Regions from separate parts of the Homo sapiens genome. Here region 2 is linked to region 1. The links are contacts of gene promoters, found by promoter capture Hi-C in blood cells and fetal thymus (Javierre and others, 2016). All regions are on one chromosome and are shown on one strand. The core of a region is centred on a gene start or on the middle of the fragment in contact, and the rest is flanking DNA. Distances in the headings are between cores, read along the strand shown.

What was found. The method cuts DNA at HindIII sites, captures the fragments that hold promoters and counts their contacts. A CHiCAGO score of 5 or more calls a contact.
Region 2: a fragment that was not itself captured here is called in contact with the fragment with the promoter of BANF2 in region 1 in 1 of 17 cell types (M1 macrophages); the score reaches 5.5 in M1 macrophages.

What each region holds. Positions count from the first base shown.
Region 1 is chr20:17,698,482-17,704,109 of GRCh38, reverse strand. It overlaps BANF2 (BANF family member 2), which reads right to left and starts at 4,144. Exons shown (of 4, transcript NM_178477.5): 1 at 4,055-4,144. LOC105372547 (a long non-coding RNA gene) reads left to right here and starts at 4,251. Exons shown (of 2, transcript XR_937294.2): 1 at 4,251-4,611. The HindIII fragment of the contact is 11,340 bases long and covers 1,186-5,628 here.
Region 2 is chr20:17,769,067-17,774,475 of GRCh38, reverse strand. No RefSeq gene overlaps it. Among named protein-coding and RNA genes, the nearest start is that of BANF2, 72 kb to the right of the region's middle. The HindIII fragment of the contact is 4,157 bases long and covers 504-4,660 here.

The DNA of each region.
Region 1 (5,628 bases), core at 2,895-5,394:
TAGAAGGTGATAAAAATGGTGCTGCCAGTTCTGGGCCTGGCAGCCTCTGCTTCCTCTCTCAGAAGCCAGCTGGGGACAGTGGTTCACACCTGTAATCCCAGCACTTTGTGAGGCCGAGGCAGAGGCCTGAGGTCAGGAGTTTGAGATCAGCCTGGCCAACATGGTGAAATCCCATCTCTACTAAAAACACAAAAATTAGCTGGGCATTGTGGCAGGCACCTGCAATCCCAGCTACTCAGGAGGCTGAGGCAGGAGAATCGCTTGAACCCAGGATTGGGAGGCGGAGGTTGCAGTGAGCCAAGATCACACCACTGCACTCCAGCCTGGGCAACAGAGCAAGACACTGTCAAAAAAAAAAAAAAAAAAAAAGTCAGCCTACTTGCCCTGAGACCTCCATGCTGTAAGAAAACCCAGACAAACCGCATAGAGATGTTTCTTGGAGAGCCCAAAAGTCCCAGCTGTGTGAGTGAGGCCTTCTTGGGCCACCCTGTCCAGCCTAGCCCCCAGCTGAGTGACCCTCAGTGACACAATGTGGAACTGAGTCCTGCTCACATTCCAGACCCAGAGAATTGGAAGAAATACGAATCTTTGCTGTTCTAGGCCGCTGTGCTCATGTTATTTTGTCACACAGCAGAAGTTACTGGGGCCATGACCGCCTTTCCTCCTCACTGAAGGAGGGGGCTGTCCTGCAGAATGTTCACACACTGTAAGCACCATACTGAGCACTTTCTGCCTCTCAGGCGCTGTTCCAGGCACAGAGATGGAGTGGGAGAGGGCAGACTGCATCCCTGCTCTGGTGAAACTGGGATTTTTATCCAGGGATAGGGCAGTAGACAAGAAAACACACAAACGTAACTTCAGAGAGATAAGGAGCAATTGGAATGGGGCTGGGGACACAATTAGGTAGAATAGGGAAGATCTTTCTGAAGACACACACTTGATCTGAGGCCCTCCTGTTGAACAGGGGCAAACCATAAAATGATCAGAGGAAAAAGTGATGCCGGCAGAGAGAACAGCAAATGCAAAAATCAAAAAGCACAGGAGGTCTGGGAGTGAAGGCAGAGGGAAAGGGAAAGCCAGGAGAGGGGAATGAGATCAGAGATGAAGTCACAAAAGTCAGCAGGGCCCAGAGCAGCAGCGTCTAGCACACCGCCACCAGCCACCGATGGCTATGTAATCTAAGCTTCCATTTAAACAACAAGCGCAGCTCCTCAGTCCCACTGGCCACATCCCAAGTGCCCAGTGGCCCTGTGTGCCTAGTGGCTATCATATGAGACAACACAGAGACAGAATATTCCCGTGACGGTTCTGTTGGCTGAGATGGCTATAGAATAACTCAGAAGCAGATCAGAACCAGGGTTCAAGGTCAGACCATGTGTTCTTGGGCTTAGTATTCCATTAAATTTCTGAAGGTTCCAGTTTTCCCCAGGGTTAAATGAGGCTTTTCCAGCCCAACAGTGGGTCCAAATTATCCACAGCAAGAAGCCAAGTCCACAAACAGTTGCACACGGGTCCTATCCAAGGAGCATCAGCAAGGCCTCATCCATGGAAACTGGCAGCAGAGGTCTGTGTAACTGACTTCTTTGCAACCTCATTTAAGTTGCCAGTTGGGGCTCCCTGATGTGAAAAAAGAACAGAGCATGGCTACTATTTCAGGGCACCACGCAGAAGGGAGAGTGCCACAATTAGCTGAAGCTGCTTTCGATTAGCAGATTTTCTTCCTTGGTGCATAACATCTGTCCGTGTATAGACATCGCTCCATCTTGCCCCATCAGAGTGAGGGGCCGGGCCAGTGAAACAGGCGGGCCCACAGGGAGTTCAGCATCCATCAGGGCAACGTCCAAGAGGAGCTGGAAATAGGCACTGTGGAACTTGGCACATCGATGGCAGTTTGCCTTAGGGAAAGGCTAAGAAAGGAGACCCTGCTTCCTCACACAAGCTGGGAGGCGGCAGATGGAGACATAAGTTTTCCTTGGGGTTAGAAAGACCTGCTTCGTCATTTAGTATTTATGACATCTCCACAAGTACCTGATCCTCTGGGGTGGTTACCTAACCATGCTCATCTGAGAAACGGGGCTGATGACACCCACCTCATGGAGCTGGGGAGGAGTAGGTGGAATAATCTCTGGAAACACACTTGGCATGCAGCAGGCATTTTGTAAATGGTGGCTGAATCATAATCTTGATAGGAAAGAACCAGGTGAATGAGAGAGATGGGCATGGGAACGTTTGATCAGCACTCAGAACTGGCTCCTCCATTTGTTCAGTCAACACAGGTTAACTCTGCAAATTGGCTCTGGAGCCTTGGAAAACTCCCTCAACCAGCCTGGGTTCCTCTTTCCTACCTGGGGCCCGTAGCTGATCTCTATGGTTCTTCCCAGTTCTCCTTGCCTAACAGAAAGTTTGCAGCCGTCCTTAAGGCGTGACCCACCTGAGTTCAATCGCAGAGGGTGGGCAAAGTACTAACACCCAGAAACCTACAATCTTGGATTTGGAAACAGCCTTTAAAGGTCTTTTGGTCCAGCTCCCAGCTGATCACAAGAATCCCGTTCCCTTCCATGCTGATGGAAGAGCCGTGGCCTGCACACTCTTGCTGCCTTGCAAAGCAGCCCATTCTCTTTTCAGAGAGCTCTAATGTTGGGGATAGTCGATAGAGAGTGAAGGCATGCTCCAGGTTAATGACCCTCTTTAGACGTGGCACCAGCACAGAACAGTCTTCAGTTTCTATGTCTGTAGAATGAACCTGAGAACACCTGCTTCACAGAGGTCGGAATTAAGAGCAATAACATAGCTGGTGGGTCTGGCACGGGAGGTTCAGCGTTTGCTCCCTTTCTCCTCTCCAAATTAAACCTGCTGCAGGACGGGGACCACAGGTTGCTCTAGCGCCGGCCCCTCTACTGTCTTTTTTCCTTTTCCAGTGGGGCCTAACATAGGCTAAAATGTTCTTAGCATGCTTGGTGAACCATTGGCGTCTTGGATTTGTGTGTGAAGCAGAGGTTGGCTTCAGCCCATCACATATAAAACTAAGGAGGGATGGCAAAGCCTAAGGGTAAAATATTTCTCTGATCCACCCCCCACCACCTCCCTTTCTACCTTACACAGTCAAGGAGAGCCAGGAGCCTTCTTAAAATCATGGGGTCCCTATAGAAGCCACTCCTTTGTGGGAGAAGGGACGCAGCTGCAGCTGTGTGGACGTGTTGGCACTCACAGATGGTGAATGGACCGTAGACAGACTGTGGGAAAACACGAATGGGCCATGGTAGGGAAGGCAGCTGTGCCTCCTGGGGCCCAGAACGGGTCCCTACTGTTTGTTATAGAAGGCCTTGAGTCTCAAACCACCCTCAGCCGAGTGCAGGTGGCCCATATGGAAAGAGCCAGCATCCTCTTTGAGAGATGGCTTTGGCCTCTGTCCCTGTCCCCGCTACCTTAGATTTTGCCCACTTTCCTGGTGTTCTAATCCATCTCCTTATTTCCCGTCACGATCCTAAAGCTCTCTTACTGTCCCAAAAGGAAAGGAAGTGATTTGATATACCAGCAGGTCACCAGGAGGTGGATTTAAAAACAGCCAAAGCAGGAAGGCCTCTTACAGAAAGGAAGGACCGTCGTTCACATTTTGGACGGGAGGTGGCTGTGTCAGCTACCTCTGCTCATCCTGCTATGTGGTGTGTCATTTGGCCAATGGCTGTCCCTGACCTCAATTAGGGCTAGAAGTGATGCTCTAGTGAATTTGCCATCTGAAAGCCTGGCCTCTCTGCTCTATTAAGAACACAGGTGACCTTTGCCCAGGGAGCTGGTGCAGGTGGCAAGCCGAGTCTTAGGGGAGACTAGAGTACCACCTCCCGCAGATGGTGACACAGCAGGAAGAGGCTGGGAAGGGGTGTGTGCATCAGGTGAGTCAGCTTTCCTAGGAAGAGTTTGGGGCTTACCTGGTGAACTCCTGTCCACCGGTTTGGCTCATCTAAACCTGTGTGAGAATGAGACCTTAAAGTGCTAAGACAGCCAGCTGTTGGCTGTATCTCCTTCCATGCTGCTTGGGAAAGTTCTGAATACTCACCAGGTGCTCCTGATAAGCCAGTGGCAGCTGGCAGTTTGTCTCAGTCACCTTGGATCTGGAACTGCAGGCCAGAGGTTCAGCTTATGTCTTAGGCCCATGGGGCAAATCAGTCTCAAGATCCTGAATGGACTACATTGTGATGTCACACCACAGGTCGGGGGTGAGCACAAAAAGGGCTGCAGTGGCTGCTGGCATCAGGGCACAGGGCAGGGCAGGAGCAAGAGCCTCAGGCCTCTCCAGAAGAAATCAGCCTGTCTGGGTGCTGTTCTCAGCTGGGGTTGCTGGGAAAGAGTGAGGGATGTCTGCTGTACAGAAAACATCAGCCTGGAAGACTGCTTATGAATCCACCTGCTGCCACTTGCTGCCACGGTTCCTATTCTCACCTGGCCTGCGTCAATTCAGTTAAACCAAGTCCATCCTTCATGCAGTTTTCCTGCACAAAGTGACTTCCGTGGGTACCCCCAGCTCCTTGCACATCTTCTGTGATGGACTTGAAATTCCAGGGCAGCTTTTTCTTCTACCAGTATACCCGTGACTTTCCCCCTACTGCCCACCTGGTAGGGACTCAAGGAAAGAGAAGTAACTTAAATATTAGCTCAGGAAAACAAGCAGAAATATAAATCCTCCCACCTTCAAGTTAAATTCAACACAGGTGTCTTTTAGGTTATCCTCTATAGCATATATGCCTGGGCTACTTTCCATTGTTGGTAATTGATAACTTGGTACAATGTATATTTACTAAGCCTAAAAAGAAAAGAAAAACTCAAAAAAGGGGGCAAAGTATAAAATGTTTCCAGAGATTCCATTCCCTTTTGCTGCTGGTGCTTGGGATTGGGGATGGAGGAGTTCTAACCAAGAGCAAACGGCTTCGCTTTGGAAACTGTTGGGTGGCCCTAAATTTTAGAGTCCAAAACAGTGGGTCTTAAACTGTAGGTTGCATTAGAATGACCTGGAAGACTCGTTAAAATACAGATTCCTGGGCCCCACTCTCAAAGTTTCTGACTCATTAGGTCTGGGGGAGAACCCAATAATTCACATTTCTTACACGTTCCCACATGACGTTGAGGCTGCTTGCTCTGAGACTACACACTTTAAGAACATGTAAGGGTGCTGGTATCTTAGGTTTGATCCTGAAATAGTATTGCCAGCTGATGGCAGTATTCAGGGGTTGCTGGAGAATAAACAGGAGCTGTAGCTTTGGGGCCAAAGCTGGCTGAGCTCTCTGGGTTCAACCAGCACGCTTTACTGAGGATCTATTCATTGCCAGAACTGAGCCACGTTTTGGGGAAGCACAACTGACGTTGTCAGTGCCCTGCCCATAGCCTCTTGGCCTTACAACTTCATTGTACAAAGGTAATCTGACTCCCAGCTGCCAGTACCTGCGTATCTTTGCTTGGGGGCTTTTGCCAGCTGCTGGAGTCCACCCTGCCTACAAGCGGGCAGCTGCAAGTTGCAGAATGTCCTCATTCAATGACTATTATCAGTTGGTAGATAAATAACCCAGCTCCCTCCCTGCTCAGGTGGAATAACCTGGAGTCATGTCCTGTTCCATGTCCCAGAGGACCCACAGGACC
Region 2 (5,409 bases), core at 1,333-3,832, 72 kb before region 1:
AGCACAAGCACTGGTTTCTGGTAGACATATACCTAGGAAGAGAATTTCCAGGCTTCATTTCTAGGAAGTTCTCTTTCACCTTCCCCCATTCTTAGGCAATAGGGAAGGTTTAGGGGCAGTGGGGGATAGGCCATCCTTACGCTGAATGTGGTCGCACAGTTGGACAGTTGCCCACTTACCGGGCACAGGGTCTGTCCACAGCCGAGGTGCCCACTCGCTGTTCGTAAGTGGACACAGGCATTCCACTGAACTGGAAATAGCACGCTCTTGTTATTTTTAAGGCTTACCTTCTTTTTGGTTTTTCCTTTTTTCTTTTTTGGGTAACAGTCTTGAAAGAGACTCTTACAGGGAAAATAACAGAAAGCAAAGACTTCTGTATTTGATTCATAAAATGATTTCTCCAGGGATGAATCCACCGAAACCTCCTAATTCAATGTCACTCAGAGGAGTCCATGGACATTTGTGTCCAAGAATATTAATAGCAGTAACTTAAAAAAAAAGCTTCTTCCATCAGGGAAGTTTGGGAGACACCCAACTGAACAAAGTGAGTTAGGTTTTCTTACTCAGGACTTGTTGGAGCCTCGGTCAGTCTCCAAGAGGCCCCCTAGAAGCCACTTTCTCTCGGCACAGCGTTTTGTGGGCTGGAGAACCCACACTGGGAAAGCCTGTGAGGAGGAATATTTTTGAAGTATTCTTGGAACATGTATTATTGTTTTAGTCTCTGGGGCCTATTTCCTCCAAACCTGAGCCTGCAGTGGAGGTTGAGCCGGCAGGGCATCATTCTCGGCATGAGCCATGCAGCCCTGGGTCCCTTTTTGCATTTGGCTCCACCTGATTCCGAGCATGGGGCTGACTGATCCAAGTTCAGAGAAACTAAGTTCATACAAAACCAGGCCTCAGAGGAGTTCCCAGGAGCTCCTGGGCACCCAGACCCATCTACAAACGGTGGAGGAGCTTCGTCCCTACACTTGCTGGTCCTTCCAGCTCCTCCCCCAGATATCTCCAGAGCCACTGCCTCCCCTCCTCAGGCCTTGACCTTCTCTGTGAGGATTCCGCTGACCACCTTGAAGTCACAGCCTTGCCCCCACCCCCAGCACTTCGTATTCACTTTTCCTGCTGTTTCCCCTCCTGAGCCCTTACCTAGATTTAACATACTCCATCTACTTATTTATTTATTTACTTGAGACAGGGTCTCACTCTGTCACCCAGGCTGGCATGCAGTGGCATGATCATGGCTCACTGCAGCCTGGACCTCCCAGGCTCAGGTGATCCTCCCACCTCAGCCTCCTGAGTGGCTAGGACTACAGGTGCCCACCATCACGCCCAGCTATGTTTTGTATTTTTTGTAGAGATGGGGTTTTGCCATGTTGCCCAGGCCGGTCTTGAACTCCTGGGCTCAAGACATCCACCTGCCTTGGCCTCCCAAAGTGCTGGGATTACAGGCGTGAGCCACCGTGCCCGGCCTCCATCTATTTACTTAACTTGTTGATTGCCCCCTCCTCCTCCAGCTAGAAGGCAAGCTAGAAGGCAGGAAGGGCAGGGTTATTATCCGTCTTGCTCTGCCATACCCCAGAGCCTGGAACACTGTGCGGCAAACAGTCGGTGCTCAGCAGATGCGTCCAGAGTGAATGAAGTGTGTCCACTGTGCTCTTGTGAGAATGCTTTCTTCTAATTTGTGATGTTTCTGCCTAAAGAAGGTCAAGTTGCCAGCCTGACTTTGGTAGATGGGAACCACTGGTGAGAACTCCACCTGCTTCCCTCAAGACGGACCTATCTGTTATGTATTCTGAGGCAGGCACTTTGCTGGGGGCGCACACAGGATTCCAAAACCCACTGTGAAAATGCACACCCCAGGGAGTGCATTCAGACTGGAAAGCAGGCTCTTTTATCTTTCTTTTTATTGATATTGCATTTGAAAAATACATACATACAATCAATAAAATACACAAAGTGAGGTTTCTTTCTCACCTCGAACCCCTACATTCCACTTCTCCTCTCCAGAAGCAACCTTTGTTAGTTTCTTTTTTAGCTTTCCTGAGGTATTTCATGCATTTATAAGCATTTTTTTCTTTTTTCACAGGTGATAACACACCATACATGCTCTTCAGCATGTGACTTCTTTCACTTAACAATATGTCTGGGAGGCACCTCCACCTCAGAGCATAAAGAGCTCTCTTTGAAAAGGCCACAGAATATTCCATTAGGTGGATGTACAGGACTTAACCTGCTATTGTCCATCGGCACGAAGGTTGAATCCAGTTTTTTGTCTATTACAAGCAATGACATGTGTATACTTTTGAAAGGAGGGAAAGAAAGGAAGGAAGGAGGGAAGGCAAAGAGAAGGGAAGAAAGACAGGAAGGAAGAAAGAGAAAAAGAAGGAAGGAAGGGAAAGAAAAAAAAAGAAAGAAAAGGGAGGAGGAAGGGAGGGAGGGAAAGCAAGCCACCAACGTGGTTCAGAATTTGACAAATATTTATTGGCACATATTTTAAGTGCCAGGCCTATTGTTAAACTCTAGGAAGCTCCTGCCCTTGGAGCCAGTCTAACAGTGAATCTCAAAGTCCTGTCGCTTTTTTCTCTTCAGAGAAATTCCTCATGGCTTCTCCTGGGGAGGGGAGCGGCGAAGGGGAAAGTAGGGAAGAGGCTCTGCTTAGCTTTGAACTGCACTCAGGGCACGGTTGTATGTGGACGCACTCAACCACAAGCACGGTGGCCGACTCTCACAAATGTACATTCGGGCAGCCTGAGGGTTATGAGTTTGTCATGATATATTTAGAGCGAGCAAGAGCCCTTTAGTGGTGCCCCGAGCCAGAGAGTAAATAGCTGCTTACACGGGCATTTAAAGCCAACATAGAAAGAGGCTGTAATTGCAGTGCTCAGGAAATGCCATACTTGAGAGCTTTTCTAAAATGACATGCTATTTGACCCAATATTTTCCAGAATGCAGAGGCTTCTTTGATCTTTGCAGCACGGCGCCCTTGCACAATGACTGGGTCACAGCAGCACTCCGGATGAACATGCCCCGCCGGGGGTAGAGCTGGTAACTGGGAGGACTTGGGCTGAGAGCTGGTGGACCAGATCTTGGGTTGAATTCTCCCAGAAGTAGAGAAAGATGGAGTTCAGAAGATTGTTTGGAAACGCATTTCTGGAAGCCCCCCTGGGGAGCGGGGAAGGGAGACAAACCTGTTCAGAGTATTGATGGGTAGTTAGCACCGTGGACAAGCAGAACTCAACACTGTAGGGGCCTTGGGAGATGGCAGGGACATGCTTCACAGCAGCCCACCTGAGGGGCAAGGAAGCTGGAGTATTTATCCCACCAACATCCATTCCTCATTGGCCAGAGGTGTCTTGGGAGGGAGTAGGGGGTTGAGTCTCCAATCAGCCCTGCTTAAAGCTGGGGAGAGAAGCTGTTGGGTTGGCCTCCATAGGATTTTTATAGAAAAATCTCCCAATTGCTAAATGTTGGCAAATGATCCCCAATTTTCTTTTCCTTTTTTTTTCTTTATTTTGAGACAAGGTCTCACTCTGTTGCCCAGGCTGGAGTGCAGTGGTGTGGTCATGGCTCACCGCAGCCTCAACTTCCTGGGCCCAAGCGATCCTCCTGCCTCAGCCTCCTAAGTAGCTGGGACCACAGGCATACACCACCACACCCAGCTAATTTTTAAATTTTTTTTTGAGATGGGGTCTCCGTATGTTGCCCAGGCTGGTCTCTAATTCCTGGACTCAATCAAGCAATCCTCCTGCCTTGGCCAAGGCAGGCAGATCGCTTGAGGCCAGGAGTTCGAGACTAGCCTAGCCAACATGTCAAAGTCTCTTATCTACTAAAGATACAAAAAAATTAACTAGGTGTGGTGGTGCACGCTTGTAATCCCAGCTACTCGGGAGACTGAGGCATAAGAGTTGCTTGAAACCAGGAGGCAGAGGTTGGAGTGAGCAGAAATCACGCCACTGCATTCCAGCCTAGGTGACAGAGTGAGACTCTGTCTCAAAAATAAAAATAAAAATTCCATGAAGTCAGAGAGAGCTGACAATTTACTCCTCCTCAGTTGATTATACCTCAGCTTACTTTTTTCTTTTTTTATTATACTGAAAAGTTGCAAAATACCTCAGTTTATATGAGTTTTCCAGATTAAAATATTATTGCTTTTTAGTGAAATCTTTACAGATGAAATGATGTTTGGGATTTGTTTCAAGGTAATATAGGAGGTGAAAAGTGGGTCAAGTATAGATACGGAAAGATTGGTCATGGATTGATAAGAATTAAATTGGGTCACAATAGTCATATACTATTTTTTATTTTATTTTATTTTATTTTTTGAGATGGAGTGTCACTCTGTCGCCCAGGCTAGAGTGTAGTGGCACAACCTCGGCTCGGTGCAACCTCCGCCTCCTGGGTTCAAGCAATTCTTGTGCCTCAGCCTCCTGAGTAGCTGGGATTACAGGCGTGGGCCACCATGCCTGGCTAATTTTTATATTTTTTATAGAGACAAGATTTTGCCATGTTAGCCAGGCTGATCTCAAACTCCTGACCTCAAGTCATCCACCCACGTCAGTGTCACAAAGTGCTGGGATTACAGGCCTGAGCCACCATGCCTGGCCTAGTCATATACTATTTTTATAAATGCCAAACATTTTATGTAATAAAATTTTGAGGGAAAGCTTTGAAAGTTGTTATTGTCAATGAGTGGATTGAATGTGCACAACAGAATAAGAGCGGAACCGAGTGGCGTGCTGAAGGCAGGCAATACCTGGGAATAAATTTTACACTGTCAGGTGACATCTCTTCATGCACATTTCACTCTAGAGCCTAAAGTAGCATTAATCTTGATTTTAGAAGTGGCTCTAAGTTCTAGAAGAGAATTTAGGTCTCTGTCTTGGATTGTCAGCAAGTGTTCTTGAGTGACTGTTGGTAAAACAACCTTGAAGAAAATTCTGATGTGGTTCTAGAGTCACATGGGAAACAAAATGTACTTGAAGGCTGTGTTGTGCTGGAGCCAGCTCATGTCAGGTCTCAAGAGCCAATTACGTGCATCTTTTCTCAACTCTGCTTTTATCGAGATCAGGTTGATAGTTTGAAACTGACCACGGTAGGAACCTGTATATCATGGAAATTGGCAGATGCTATAAATAGGACTTTTTTTTTTTGAGAGCTGGTTGTTGCACAGGTACCACCACACCATGGCTGTAAGGTCTTCCCTGGGACTCTGAGGGTACAGAGACAGTTGCCATTTTAAACGTGTGCAAACCCACTCTTGAAACAGATGCTGTCAACACTTATCAGAGCTTAGGCAAAGGTAAGATTGCCAGAGAAAGGGATGCAGCGGCAGATAGCTTTCCATTAGAAAGCTGATGGTGTTCAAATGTGCCTGTCACAGGGTGTGGACCACAGTGGATACCTTGTCCATGTCAA